Regions from separate parts of the Homo sapiens genome. Here region 2 is linked to region 1. Evidence: promoter capture Hi-C in 16 types of primary human blood cells and fetal thymus (Javierre and others, 2016). All regions are on one chromosome and are shown on one strand. Each heading gives the region's core, a stretch centred on a gene start or on the middle of the fragment in contact. The rest is flanking DNA. Distances are from core to core; before and after follow the strand shown. Region 1 holds the start of PRB4 (proline rich protein BstNI subfamily 4). Region 2 holds the start of TAS2R20 (taste 2 receptor member 20).

What was found. The method cuts DNA at HindIII sites, captures the fragments that hold promoters and counts their contacts. A CHiCAGO score of 5 or more calls a contact.
Region 2: the fragment with the promoter of TAS2R20 here is called in contact with the fragment with the promoter of PRB4 in region 1 in 4 of 17 cell types (total CD8 T cells, naive B cells, activated CD4 T cells and 1 more); the score reaches 6.9 in total CD8 T cells.

The regions. Positions count from the first base shown.
Region 1 is chr12:11,306,879-11,313,835 of GRCh38, reverse strand. It overlaps PRB4 (proline rich protein BstNI subfamily 4), which reads left to right and starts at 3,400. Exons shown (of 4, transcript NM_002723.6): 1 at 3,400-3,501; 2 at 4,431-4,466; 3 at 4,954-5,615; 4 at 6,637-6,759. The coding sequence starts at 3,438. The coding sequence ends at 5,597. The HindIII fragment of the contact is 5,809 bases long and covers 2,814-6,957 here.
Region 2 is chr12:10,994,633-11,001,519 of GRCh38, reverse strand. TAS2R20 (taste 2 receptor member 20) reads left to right here and starts at 3,216. Exons shown (of 1, transcript NM_176889.4): 1 at 3,216-5,559. The coding sequence starts at 3,645. The coding sequence ends at 4,574. The region is part of intron 3 of PRH1-TAS2R14 (PRH1-TAS2R14 readthrough); the gene reads left to right. The region is part of intron 3 of PRH1-PRR4 (PRH1-PRR4 readthrough); the gene reads left to right. It also overlaps a transcript of PRH1 not described here. The HindIII fragment of the contact is 1,654 bases long and covers 2,789-4,442 here.

The sequences.
Region 1 (6,957 bases), core at 2,151-4,650:
CAAGAAAAATGCACGTATCATGGATTAAGGAAGTACATACAGGATCTATATTGGCAGGGTTTTGTAATTAGAAAAAAAGGAATTAATTCCTCTGAGTGTCTTTATATAAATCCAAGGGGTAAAACAGAATACTGGAAGATGTTTAAATGTGATTATGATTTTAAACAAACATGTTTACTCAGGAAAATATATTTTTCCTCACCTCAGCTGTTTATGTCTCAGGAAAACATAACCTTGAAAATATTGTAAGAGAAACTTGTTTTTATTCTCTGAATCTCCTTTCCTTTCACATTCTTGTAAAGAAATGAATGAAGACCAAGTAACCAGTGGAGCACAATAGGCAAGAACTCAGCTATGAGAACTAACTGCCTTCCAGTCCACTTACTACCTTTATATGATCCTAGGCATGCACCTAAGTCACCTCATCTACAAAATTAAGATAATAATAATCATCACATCTCCCTCATATGATGGTTCTGAAGATTGAATATCATATAGTAAATGCTGAAGAAATGTTTTCTATTATAATCAGCCTTTGCTAGGATAAATGGAAAGAATATAAATATGCTCAAATAGTTGTGAAATATACATATTAGAGAGCATCAACATCAAATAAAAATATAAAGATGACCATCCTACCAATGTAACCGAAGTTTTTAGAAAAGTCAACACAAATCTGAATTCTCACACACAACTGTATTACCAGAATGGTTGGTTTATGCAATGAACACAGTAAGTTGAGGAAGATTTTGCTTTCTGTTCCATTCACAGAGCTTCCAAGTCTTCAAAAAGAGAGAGATGTGTGAGTGTGAGAGAGCTGAGGCATGAAGTTTGGATCTTATTACAAGTGCAGAAGAAAATCCTAAGAGCATTGGAAGCACAAAAGTGTTATGATCTAATTCCTACTTTTCAATGATCACCCTGACTGATATGAGGGGAATGGATATGGGATGTGCTGGGGTAGGAATGTTACCAAGAGCACTGAGGATATTAAACTTCTTCAGGAGAGAGCATCATGGCCTGAACTATCACCTTCTAGTAAATATTATGCAAGTGGTTGTATTTGGGATGAGTGTTGAAAGTGGAGGAAACTGGATTTGCTAAAGGGCAGTGCCTGAAGGGAGTGAGGAGTTTTGAACCACTGAACACTTGACTTAGAAAAGGTTGGGAGCTGTTATGAGAGCTGAATTGTGTTTCCTAAAATTTCATATGTTGAAGGCTGTTCCTTCAGGACCTGAGAATATGAACATGGATATTAGAAGGCAAGTGGAGTGCTCAGGGCTTCCACTCACGTCTAGGTGCCCAAGTTCCTGCTGCAGTCCTGCTTCTCTCTTCCACCCACCCTCACCCACAGAGAGTGTCCCTTTCCGCATTTCCATCACCTCTTTTTTGTTTTGTCTGGTGAGTGCATAGCTGATATTTATGCTTTCCTGATAAACTTTACTCATTGCTGACATTGGAGAAGGTCAGGAAAGGGCCTGAAATGAGTGATCTTTAGGGGGGTTTTCATTCTCTTCCTGTACCTTCCTGCCAAGGGGAAGTCGGTCTTGCATCAGGCTGCAGCAACCTCAGTTGGTGACAATATCAGGCAATGTCAGCCTGGCCTCTGCTGCTCCTTTTCTCTGACATTCCTTTGTTACCTGATGGTCTAACTTAAGCCACCTAAGCAGGATTGCTCATCTCCAGTTGTATTCCCATTTCAAGTACGTGTATATTTTTGTCAGGGAAAATACCAATCTTCGTGGTTCCCTTGCAAGGGCAAAGTTATCTGTAGCAAAGCCTTTTTTATTAGGAAGTCTGCTTGTACTATTACCTGCAACTCTTCAGAAGGGCCACCCAGATTCTCATCTGCAAAGCCCAGGATCTACTCATCCACAATGTTCAAGAGGCCTGTCTTTAGGATTTACTGTCACATACCCTCTCTACCTCCATCATACCTCCAACCAAGGTGTTCTCAAATTAATACCAGCCATGCACAAAATGTGAACAATTACACAAGACACATGGAAGGTCTAAGTGGTAAATGGCAGCTGTTGATACTGAGTAACCTGTATATTCCATGAACTGATAAGCAGGTATTTATCAGATATAACGAAGAATCAGTAGCTGAAAGAAGTGCTAACAATGCAGGTCTCTGATAGGGCTTTTTGGAAACACAACACGTATTATGAAATTACACAGACAAGAATGAAACAAAGATGGTAAGTACTATATCCTAATACTTAGAAGATTAAATAAAGGAAATCTCACCAAATTCATGGGGAAAAAAGCCAGATACATAAAGAAAAATACACATAATGGGCTTGACTCAGAAAATAAAATATGAACAAAGAAGAACCAGAAAGAAGGTGGGGAGGAATGCATATCAGAATATTATAGAAAAATACTCTTTGTGGAAGAACAATCTGAGAAAACAGGTAACACAAATACTGACTAAACCAAGAATACCAATATAATGCAATTTAGGCTTTAACGAGGGTATCTGATTATCCTATTTGAATGTAGAATTGTAGCCACTTAATTATAAGTGGTAGGAATTCAATACAATTATTAAAAGAAATGAAGCAGAGGGTGAATATTATAGAATATTCTGGACAAAGGGAAGAGCATGAAGGAAGTTTTGGCAACATGATATCGCATGGCTCCCGCAAGGAATTATGTATTCAGTTTTCTCAGATCTAGAAATTTCCTTATGGTTTCTGTGTACATTTTGCATTAATAACCCCTAAAGGTACTTTAAAATACACAATTTTGGCCTTCCTGTGTGGCACAACAACAAGCCTTGCCTGAGCTGAGTCAGATCCACAGAAGCTTGAACAATAGTTGTAGCCCGAGCAGGCTGTGGGGCAGCTTTCTGTCATCTATGTGTGCCCAGGAGTGTGTTGTCTTCACACCATCACACAGGTAACAGAAACCATCTCTATCGCATCAAAACTTTAGCCAATTGTGATACTATCTGTACACACACATCACAAGAGATGGAAATAGGCTCTATAAAGAGCCAGAGAAATTGACCATCTTCACTGCTGGCTGTAGCTTCACTGCCCCCACAAATATTACACAGAAATAAATAGTAGAGTGGAAAGCAGACATAGTCTTACCAAAAGGATTGAAACTCTAATGATGTCTGAAGTTCAATTATGACACAGTGCTGATAGCTTGGACACAGTTCCTTTAGAACCTTTATTCAAGTCATAGTCGTACCTTTTAGAAATAAGGCACAAACAACATCCAACCCACCCCATCCCTCTGGGCTAGAGTCCCAAAGAGAAATAAGGGATACACCTGACCTGCAGTAAGGAAAGCAGAACCCAGTCTCTGAGGTGGTGAGGCCCACCCAGGGCTCAAAGGTGCCATTGTTTTGCTCCTCTTTATAAAGGGAGTTGCCACGTTCCTCCCAGCACAGAGTTGGGAGTGACTCCAGAGCCTCCAGCGAGATGCTGCTGATTCTGCTGTCAGTGGCCCTGCTGGCCCTGAGCTCAGCTGAGAGTTCAAGTGAAGGTAAAACAGAAGGGGGAAAAGATGCGGTGACTGCTTGGGACTTAGGAGGTGACAGTGGTAATTATGGGGAAGAGAGGAGAATGAAAACACAGATGGGGCTGCAGAGTTTTCATGCCTAGGATCAGGAGACCTGTTGTGCCCTCATTCCACAATAAGGACTTCTAATTTATTTAATGTACAATGAAATCCAATAACGAATTTGTTCCAGGGGAATGAGAAGGTAAGATTTGAATTTATAGAGATAGAACTGTGCTGTGAAGGCTGCAGTGGAGAGTGCAAGGCAGATTCAGGGAAGTCCAGCTGTGAAGATCCTATACTGATCCCAGTAAGTACACAGGGATGATGGTGGCCTTGCTGTACAGACAGTCGGCATTGATGATAGAGATACATACACATCAGAGATACTGCAGAGACAGAACTGGATAGAACACTTGTCTCTGTCTAACTAAAGATGTAGAAATATCAGAGCCAATCATTACAATTTTTCTCTCCCCTACATGCAGTATTTCAATGTGCTGGGAGTGGAATGGGTTAGATTGTATTGAAATGATTACTTCTGGTTACCCCTATTGAGAAAACATGTGTATGTATGCAATATATTAACAGGAGATGGAGGGCATAAGAACACCAAAATATCACATTGAAGTACCTGGCATGCATAAACTAAATAAGCATTAAGTCTTGAGGGATGCTAGGGAGGAAAAAAAGGGGCTGTTCTATGTTGAACTCATTGCTGTTGCTCTGTGTGGTAACAACCCTGCCTCCTCTTACACCTTCCACCCCTTCCAGCACCTTCACAGATGGTGGCTGATGAGTTAACCTAGGGGATGCATGGGGTGTGGTGAGAAGACAATTTTCCCTGTAGAACACTTGTGAGTCTTGAAGATTTGAGATGTAACATTTCCCATCATCCTGTGCTTCTCTTCTAGATGTCAGCCAGGAAGAATCTCTCTTCCTAATATCAGGTAAATCCCAATTCATTCTCAATCTGTTTTGACTCCCTTTTTCTGCTTACAAATGGATCATTTCTCCAGTGTCTTCTTATCAACACTTTCCTTTCAGGAATTGATTAATGTTATTGCCCCTAATGATATAGGCAATCTTCATGCAAACTTGATTCTGGGGACCATGAGCAGGCCACCAAATGGAATGTCAGAGATGCTTGGCTTAGATGACAACAGGAGTGGGTTGACATCCCCCTGGCCAGGAGTGCCTCCTGGGAGATGACAGACAAATGGCCAGTGTCCTTATTCTGACTCCTCCTTAGACTGAGAGCCCCTCAACTTCTCCCTTTTCCCCCAGCGTTCCACTCCAGAGTTCTAGGGCTTCACTGAAAATGCAAAGAAATTAGTATCTGGGTCTCATTTTTGTGCATTTCCCCATTTAGCTCCATTACTGTAAAAATTTGTGGCAACTATTCAGTGAATGCCGTATGTCCCCCACCTCCTCCAGGAAAGCCAGAAGGACGACGCCCACAAGGAGGAAACCAGCCCCAACGTCCCCCACCTCCTCCAGGAAAGCCACAAGGACCACCCCCACAAGGAGGAAACCAGTCCCAAGGTCCCCCACCTCCTCCAGGAAAGCCAGAAGGACGACCCCCACAAGGAGGCAACCAGTCCCAAGGTCCCCCACCTCATCCAGGAAAGCCAGAAAGACCACCCCCACAAGGAGGAAACCAGTCCCAAGGTACCCCACCTCCTCCAGGAAAGCCAGAAAGACCACCCCCACAAGGAGGCAACCAGTCCCACCGTCCCCCACCTCCTCCAGGAAAGCCAGAAAGACCACCCCCACAAGGAGGTAACCAGTCCCAAGGTCCCCCACCTCATCCAGGAAAGCCAGAAGGACCACCCCCACAGGAAGGAAACAAGTCCCGAAGTGCCCGATCTCCTCCAGGAAAGCCACAAGGACCACCCCAACAAGAAGGCAACAAGCCTCAAGGTCCCCCACCTCCTGGAAAGCCACAAGGCCCACCCCCAGCAGGAGGCAATCCCCAGCAGCCTCAGGCACCTCCTGCTGGAAAGCCCCAGGGGCCACCTCCACCTCCTCAAGGGGGCAGGCCACCCAGACCTGCCCAGGGACAACAGCCTCCCCAGTAATCTAGGATTCAATGACAGGTATGATTCCACTTTATTATTCATCAGGACTCTAATTGCTACAGTTCTCCAACTTTATTGTGCCAATGAATCAACTAAAACCCATTGACATTGTATTGTCCTAGAACCCATTTCTAAAAATTTGTATTCAGATACTCTGGAATAGGGTAAGGGGACCCTGTATTTCTAACAAAATCTTTAAGGAATTCTGATGTTGAGAAACAACATACCATATGATCTGTCTTAAATTGTGTTGGCAATGAGGAGGTAGTACCATGTTCATTCTTGGCGTTCTGTTTTCTATCCACTAACTCAGAGACCTCCCATTTAAAGTTTTCACCTGAGCACCATTTGCTCAGTCCTGCCTCACACCAGCCTCTCGAGTCCAGTATTCCTGCCAAATGGTCCCTGATCTTTCAGCAGCTAAATGGCGTGTCACTTTTTAGATACTTAACTTTTCAATACGTACATGATTAAGCTAACAAAAAATATCTAATGGAATGGAAAAATATGAAGCTAATTTTAAAGGCATAACACATCCTACCCACCTTCCTTCCTTCAAAAAGCTCCCACTGTTAACCTTATGGGATCTTTTCTTTGAAATATTTATGTGTGCATAGACATATAGCATTCTTTTACCCTACCACTAATGCCATAACTTATATGCAGGTATATATGTTAGTCATTTAAAAAATACATTTTTTTAAAATTTCCACATCAGTTTATGAAGGTCACTACATATCTTCAGTGGTTTTCTGTTTGCTTTTACATTTTTATACTACTCTATTGTGTAGCTGTGCCATGATTTCGTTAACCAATCCCTGTCACTGGACACTGAGGGTGGTTTTAGCTTCTCAGTATTATAGAATATGTTCCAGTTACCATCTGTGTAAATATATCCCTGAACAAATTCAACAGCAATGAGTCACAGCAACCTAAGGATGGTCTTTTCTCTTCATCTTCTAAGCCACAATTTGGAGCACATTGTGTGCAAGGGCATCAAAAGAGTGAATCTATGAACTTGCTTGTTTGTTTATTTCAGGAAGTGAATAAGAAGATATCAGTGAATTCAAATAATTCAATTGCTACAAATGCCGTGACATTGGAACAAGGTCATCATAGCTCTAACTTTAATATACCAATAAAATAATCAGCTTGCAATTTCTGATTGTGGTGTTCTTTCTCAGTGTTTGTGAATGTGGAATGTGAGGACCAAGAACACATTATAAGAACATCTAGGACCCCTTCTGTCTGATGCTTCCAGGGAGTTTCCCTTCTCTTTAATCCTAACTTAGCCAGCTGCCATGAAAAATGTTTTGCTGTTTATCTCTTTCCCTGACTTCAATTTTTTTTTCTTTTTCTG
Region 2 (6,887 bases), core at 1,967-4,466, 310 kb after region 1:
TCCTTTGTGCATCTATCCCCTGGCATTCTCCCATCCTGCCCCAAGTCATCAGCCCACACAGGTTGCTGGCACATCTAAAGTGAGAATTTTAGGACTAAATAAATCAAATAGAAGTAAGCCCTCACATCTTCTATATCTCACCTGATAGTGAAGAAGTTTGAAGGTACAGAGCTCCACTTCTGCTAATAAAAAAAGAGTAAAATTTAATTTGTAAAATAGAATGGTGTAGCTAGGGTTGAGGTGCTATAATTTATTTATTGGAATGGCATCTTGAGATCCAGCACAGCTCATTGAATTTCCCTGTGGGGAGAGTTTGTGGTGAAGACTCATCAACAGACAAGCTGCTATCCCCCCCTAAAAAAAAAAGCTACTAACATCACATCAATTTCCAGGTTCTTCCAACTTGCGGAAGGATGTGTAGACCAAGCTTTTATTCTATTTTGTGACCAAAGTCTTGGGAAAAGAAGAAAATTGTTAGCATTTTCATGTCAAGCATACGAAAAACAAAAAAACAAAGCCAACCAACTGAACAAAGAACCCAACTTTTTTTAAAAAACTTGGTGGTAAGAGTGCTTTGTTCTGCTTCTCCATAGATAATGATTTATAGAAGGAGAACAAAATATAATTTCTGCTACTAAAACAATAATAGCAAAAAATAAATAATCAATATTGAGAATCCAATAGACAGAGTTAACAACCAGTTAGACATAGAAGAGAGAATTAGTGAATTGGAAGACAACTATAAAGAAAGAAGCCTAAAGAGACCACAAGACAAAGAATGCCAAGCTAAGAGGATAAGAGGCATTGATGCTACAATCAGAGCATCTAACATACTTCTGGATTTCTGGAAGATTAAAAGGGATAAAATAGGGCAGAATCAATGTTGTGGAGATTTTCCCAAAAGTGATAAAATGTATTAATCCATATATTTTTAGTAACCATCAAAGGTCAGACAAGATAACTAAAAACAAATTAACATAAAATGTCACAAGACATCAAAGACCAGTAGAAAATCTGAAAAGTAGCCAGAGGAAAAGATAGATTATTTTAAAAGGAACAACTTTCTAAATGACAACCTGATTTTCAACAGAAAAATGGAAAGTAGAATTCAATGGAATCATGTCTTTAGTGTGTTTCAAAAGAATAGAGGACCTTCATAAACAGAAATCCAAATGATATTTTTCAGATAAAAAATATTGAAAATACAAGGTTAAGCATGCAAGAAGGAATAAAAATTAACAGAAATGATAAATATGTGCATAATTCTAAATGAATGTTGACTGAATAAAATAATAGCGTCTTGCTGAGTTAAATATATTATTGATAAGATATATGCAAATAGCGATAAAGAGACTGGAGGTAAAGGTGACAGGAACAAATTTAGATAAATTATTTTTTGCACTTTTCTATGTCTGTGAGGATAATTTGAACACCACATTTAATGACCCCATAATAGGAATTGCATCAAATGATATGTGAAATAATGCTGATAGTAGTATTATTCATAATAGCTCAAAAATAGACTGCCCAAATATATATTAACTAAGGATGATTGAATGATATGAAAGATTACAGTAAATCCATACAGTGGAACAGTATATAGAGGTGAAAAGAAATGAATCACATGTACATGCAACTATGTAACTAAATTTCAGAAACATGATATCTAGTGCAAGAAGCCATGAACAAGAAGAACACACAGGACTGCACCTATACACAGTTCAAAGCAGGACAGACCAAGCTGTGGAGTTTAGGGTTGTGAACCTAGCTGGTAAAGTATAAAGAAATTCAAGCAAATGATCATCATAGATTATGAATATTGCTTATCTCAGGAGATGTGAATAAAGGTTTAGGGGCTTGGAAAGTGGCCTGGAAGTGGACCTAGTCTGTTTGCAGTGTTCCATGTCTTATCCTGCATGATGGTTACATAAGTGTTTATGATACATTGCTCTTACCTATTTTTGTTTTGGCCCATTTCTAAGTGTGCATTATAATTTTATTTAAAAAATTACAAATTGGGAGAAATGTCACGTAAAAATTATTAATTGCTCTGCTCATTATATACCTAGGGGGAAAATCCACCATTTACGTACATTCTTATACAACTCAAGAGAGCTAAAGTGAATTCTTATTTTAGTTGCAAAATGGAGAAATTTGAGATGCTGTTACCTACAGCCTCCAGATCTTTCCAAAAGTTTTCTTCTAGTTTTAGATATTCACCTCATATTACAAAAACTTTGATATTTCCAACCTATTTTTCCTTTGGCTCCTGAATTTCTGACACAACAAGGGCGCACATATTTCTCAAACTCTTGGATTAGCAGAGTACCTATATCACTTAGCTTTTTCTGCAAAAGAAACTTCTCCAAAACCACATTAGATATTTATATCTCACATGTTTTTGGATTCTGTTTTCTTAAGCTGGGGTTTGGTGGATGGCTCTGGTGATTTGAGATGGTCCAAGTTTTGCCTCTTGGATCTAGTTAGAGTTTGGCCGATTTAAGGCTGGATCAGGCAGGAGCCATATGATTCCATGAGTTACTCATTCTTATTCTGGGAACAGTGTGTTAGTGTGGACATGTTCTCATTATAAACCGGAAAGGAACAAGAAAGCCTAATGTGGAGGTCATCTCAAATTTCGATGTAAAGTGTAGTAATTTTCTGTTCATCAAAGCAAATTACATGATCGAACTCAGAGCCCTAGTGCAAGGTTGTCACTATGCCTGTGGTGGGAGGACACTGCAAAATTATGTGACAAAGGTCTGGTACTCAGGAATGTTTACAAGCTTGCAGGTAGCATTACCAAAAGCCTAAGCATGAGAGATATGTTTCATGAATATTATTCATTGGCTGAAAATCTGGCATGGGAAAAATAGGACTAATTCCACCAGGACGAGCTCCTGGAAACTCATTTTCCATGTCATAAGTTACAAGAAAGCAATTCCTTCCATCCTTGAAGAGTGAAAGTGTGTGTGTGTCTGTGTGTGTGTTTATGAGCTTGTTAATAGTGATGCCATATAGAAGTATTGGTTAACAGCAACCAAATTATAAGGAGTATTGGCTTTCCTGTGGTTTCCAAGAAAATCTTAGGTGATTTTGATAAAAAGTTTAGATTCTGTGTATTTAAATCTGGCTTTAAAAATAAATCCATAGTGATTTTGATCCTAGATTTCACCAGGCTCTTTTAACAATATATTTTTTGTGTCATCTATGTACTGGGTATTAAAATTTCCCCAACAACTGAAGGGCTGAACACAAATTATGGAAAGGTGAAACAAGGAAAAAATTGCAAAGCAATGAAAGAGGATATGTCTTTATTTGAATGCTAGCAAATGAGAATTCAGCTTTCCCTTCAACATCAGTATGAAAAATTTCAGCCTATAGCAAGAATAGAGACTTTATGAATAAGAATTAATTTGAGTTGTTTTGGGACTAACAGTATTTCCCATAAAGGCAGCATTGAACTCATTCATTAGTTTAAGCTGGTGCTTTTCTGTTGACATTGTTCACAGAATTTAAAAGTATAAAGAATGTTATTGGACATTCAGGAATCAAGTGCATATTTAACTTAAAGTCTTGAATATCAGAGGAGTCACCATCAGTGACATTAGGCCTGAATTTTTTACTTGCTTTTTTGTTTAGACATGATGAGTTTTCTACACATTGTTTTTTCCATTCTAGTAGTGGTTGCATTTATTCTTGGAAATTTTGCCAATGGCTTTATAGCACTGATAAATTTCATTGCCTGGGTCAAGAGACAAAAGATCTCCTCAGCTGATCAAATTATTGCTGCTCTGGCAGTCTCCAGAGTTGGTTTGCTCTGGGTAATATTATTACATTGGTATTCAACTGTGTTGAATCCAACTTCATCTAATTTAAAAGTAATAATTTTTATTTCTAATGCCTGGGCAGTAACCAATCATTTCAGCATCTGGCTTGCTACTAGCCTCAGCATATTTTATTTGCTCAAGATCGTCAATTTCTCCAGACTTATTTTTCATCACTTAAAAAGGAAGGCTAAGAGTGTAGTTCTGGTGATAGTGTTGGGGTCTTTGTTCTTTTTGGTTTGTCACCTTGTGATGAAACACACGTATATAAATGTGTGGACAGAAGAATGTGAAGGAAACGTAACTTGGAAGATCAAACTGAGGAATGCAATGCACCTTTCCAACTTGACTGTAGCCATGCTAGCAAACTTGATACCATTCACTCTGACCCTGATATCTTTTCTGCTGTTAATCTACTCTCTGTGTAAACATCTGAAGAAGATGCAGCTCCATGGCAAAGGATCTCAAGATCCCAGCACCAAGATCCACATAAAAGCTCTGCAAACTGTGACCTCCTTCCTCATATTACTTGCCATTTACTTTCTGTGTCTAATCATATCGTTTTGGAATTTTAAGATGCGACCAAAAGAAATTGTCTTAATGCTTTGCCAAGCTTTTGGAATCATATATCCATCATTCCACTCATTCATTCTGATTTGGGGGAACAAGACGCTAAAGCAGACCTTTCTTTCAGTTTTGTGGCAGGTGACTTGCTGGGCAAAAGGACAGAACCAGTCAACTCCATAGATTCACAAGAGGTGCATTGTGTGTTTTCTAGCAGAAAACAAATTGATGGTGTCTGGAACATTTTATATTTCCCACAAGTTTTTCCGTAGTCTATGTATTTGAGTAATTTCCAAAAGTTGACATAGAAAAGTCTTTTACCTAAGTTTATTATATAAAAGTATATATATATAATATACATTTGCGTGTGTGTGTATGTCTGAATGTATATGAAAATTTAATATTTACCATAACATACCTTTAATCAACTTTTCATATAAACTGTTCAGTTATACCAAAGTAGGATAAGAAATTTCTCAGAATTATGAACCCATGTGTATTTCACACATTTTTTTATATGATATTTCATTTGAGGAATTTATGATCTCTATTTATAATTAAGAACTGACAGCTTATATCAGAAAATCATTGCTGTTTTTCGTTGTAAAATCATTGCTGTTTTTCGTTGTAATTTGTATCACGTATATGTACCATAGTGTGTTTAACTGTTTAACTATCATTGTTTGAACCTCTAATTTTTTGGATGGTAAGGACATTTAATTCTAAATCGATGAGAATGTGTCTTTGGGGTAGGTTTTTTTGTTTTTTTTTTAATCATGAATTCTTTTTTTCTTTTTTTTGAGATGGAGTCTTGCCCTGTTGTCCAGGCTGGAATGCAGTAGCACAATCTTGGCTCACCACAACGTTCACCTCTGGGGTTCAAGTGATTTCCATGCGTCAGCCTCCTGAGTGGCTGGGACTCCAGGCATGCGCTACCACACGTGGCTAATTTTTTGTATTTTTCTTTTTTTTTTTAGTAGAGATGGGGTTTCACCATGCTGGCCAGGCTGGTCTCGAACTCTTGACCTCAAGTGATCCACTGCCTCAGCCTCCCAAAGTGCTGGGATTATAGACATTCATGATGAATTCTTATTTTATGTTTAATATAAAGCAAATACAATTATTGTTAGATAACAATGCACAAAATAAAATTCAAGGGTGAAAAATATATCTAGTGTACATTTTTATGTGTATCAAAAGCAATACTGAGGAATATTATATTTAATATAGTATGTTAATAGCTTAGAAAAAATCATTTCTATAAAAAGGATGAAGAAACATGATCATGAGCTCTTTTCAGTGCTGTTATAAGTTTCCATACGCAATTAGAAAAGTCATCTCTTCCAGTTTTTGAATTAAACAAAAACCTTTTTGAAGTTGAGATCTGATGTTATATATTTCAGTTTTTTGTCTAAGCCACCTCTGAGCTCCTGAATTGTCAATTTCCTCCTTTATCTTCCATCCTTAAAATTCCTCAAAAAGCTCAAATTTTCCTTACTTTAAAAAGAAGCTCAATCTAAAGAGGGTATAGAAACTATGGCATCTATGAAATCTATATATTAATGATAGGAAATGTCTTAAAGATATGTTTTATTATAATCTTGGTGTAAATAATGAAATGAGAGAAAGTGTGTTGACATATTCACTAATAGCAAGTTCTATTACAAGAAGAAAATGTATAACCTAGTTCAACAGCTAAATTCTGTGTGACTGTATTAATTTCTGGTGTTATGCAATTTTAACAATATTATCTAAACCTTAAGATAAATCATCTCCACATCTGATTTGTTTGTTTATCATATATCTTACCTGGTACAATGTAAATACCATAAAAGTAGAGATCATATAGATCTTGCTTACTGTAGACTCCCAAGACATAAAGATAGCACATAGAATAGGTATTGAAAAATGATACTTTGATGAACAAGTTAATTGGTGAATGAATGAATATGAACTATATTGGGGTGGTGAACCAATGAAAATGTAACACATCACAAAATCTACAGTTGGGTGCACATTTCTGTTCTGGTTTCAGATTGAAGTTACAGGATTATCCAAGAAGAAGAAGAATTTCTCAGAGCAAAAGTTTGGCTATTCCACAATTCTAGGGGAAATATCACTATAATATAGCAGTGATGCAGCTATATCAGATGTGTGACACAAAGACAAAGTGGAAAATAAAAAGATGGCATTTATTACAATACTTTTTACTAAGCATATAAAAGATTTTTGTATAAGTGCACATATCTTTTCTATTGCGAATGATATATTTATATTGTGGTATTTCTAGCTGGTTATTATATAAACAAAAATGACATTTCATTTAAAAAATTTAGTTACCAACTATCTTACTAAAATATAATCTTTATTTAGTATTTTTAATATCCTTTCTAAATGACCACTTTAATCACCATATTATAAACTGATGGAAAAATGAATGAATAATAATTATAACACTGAATGAATATCTTATCAGGGGTCTAGAAGTAGAGCAAA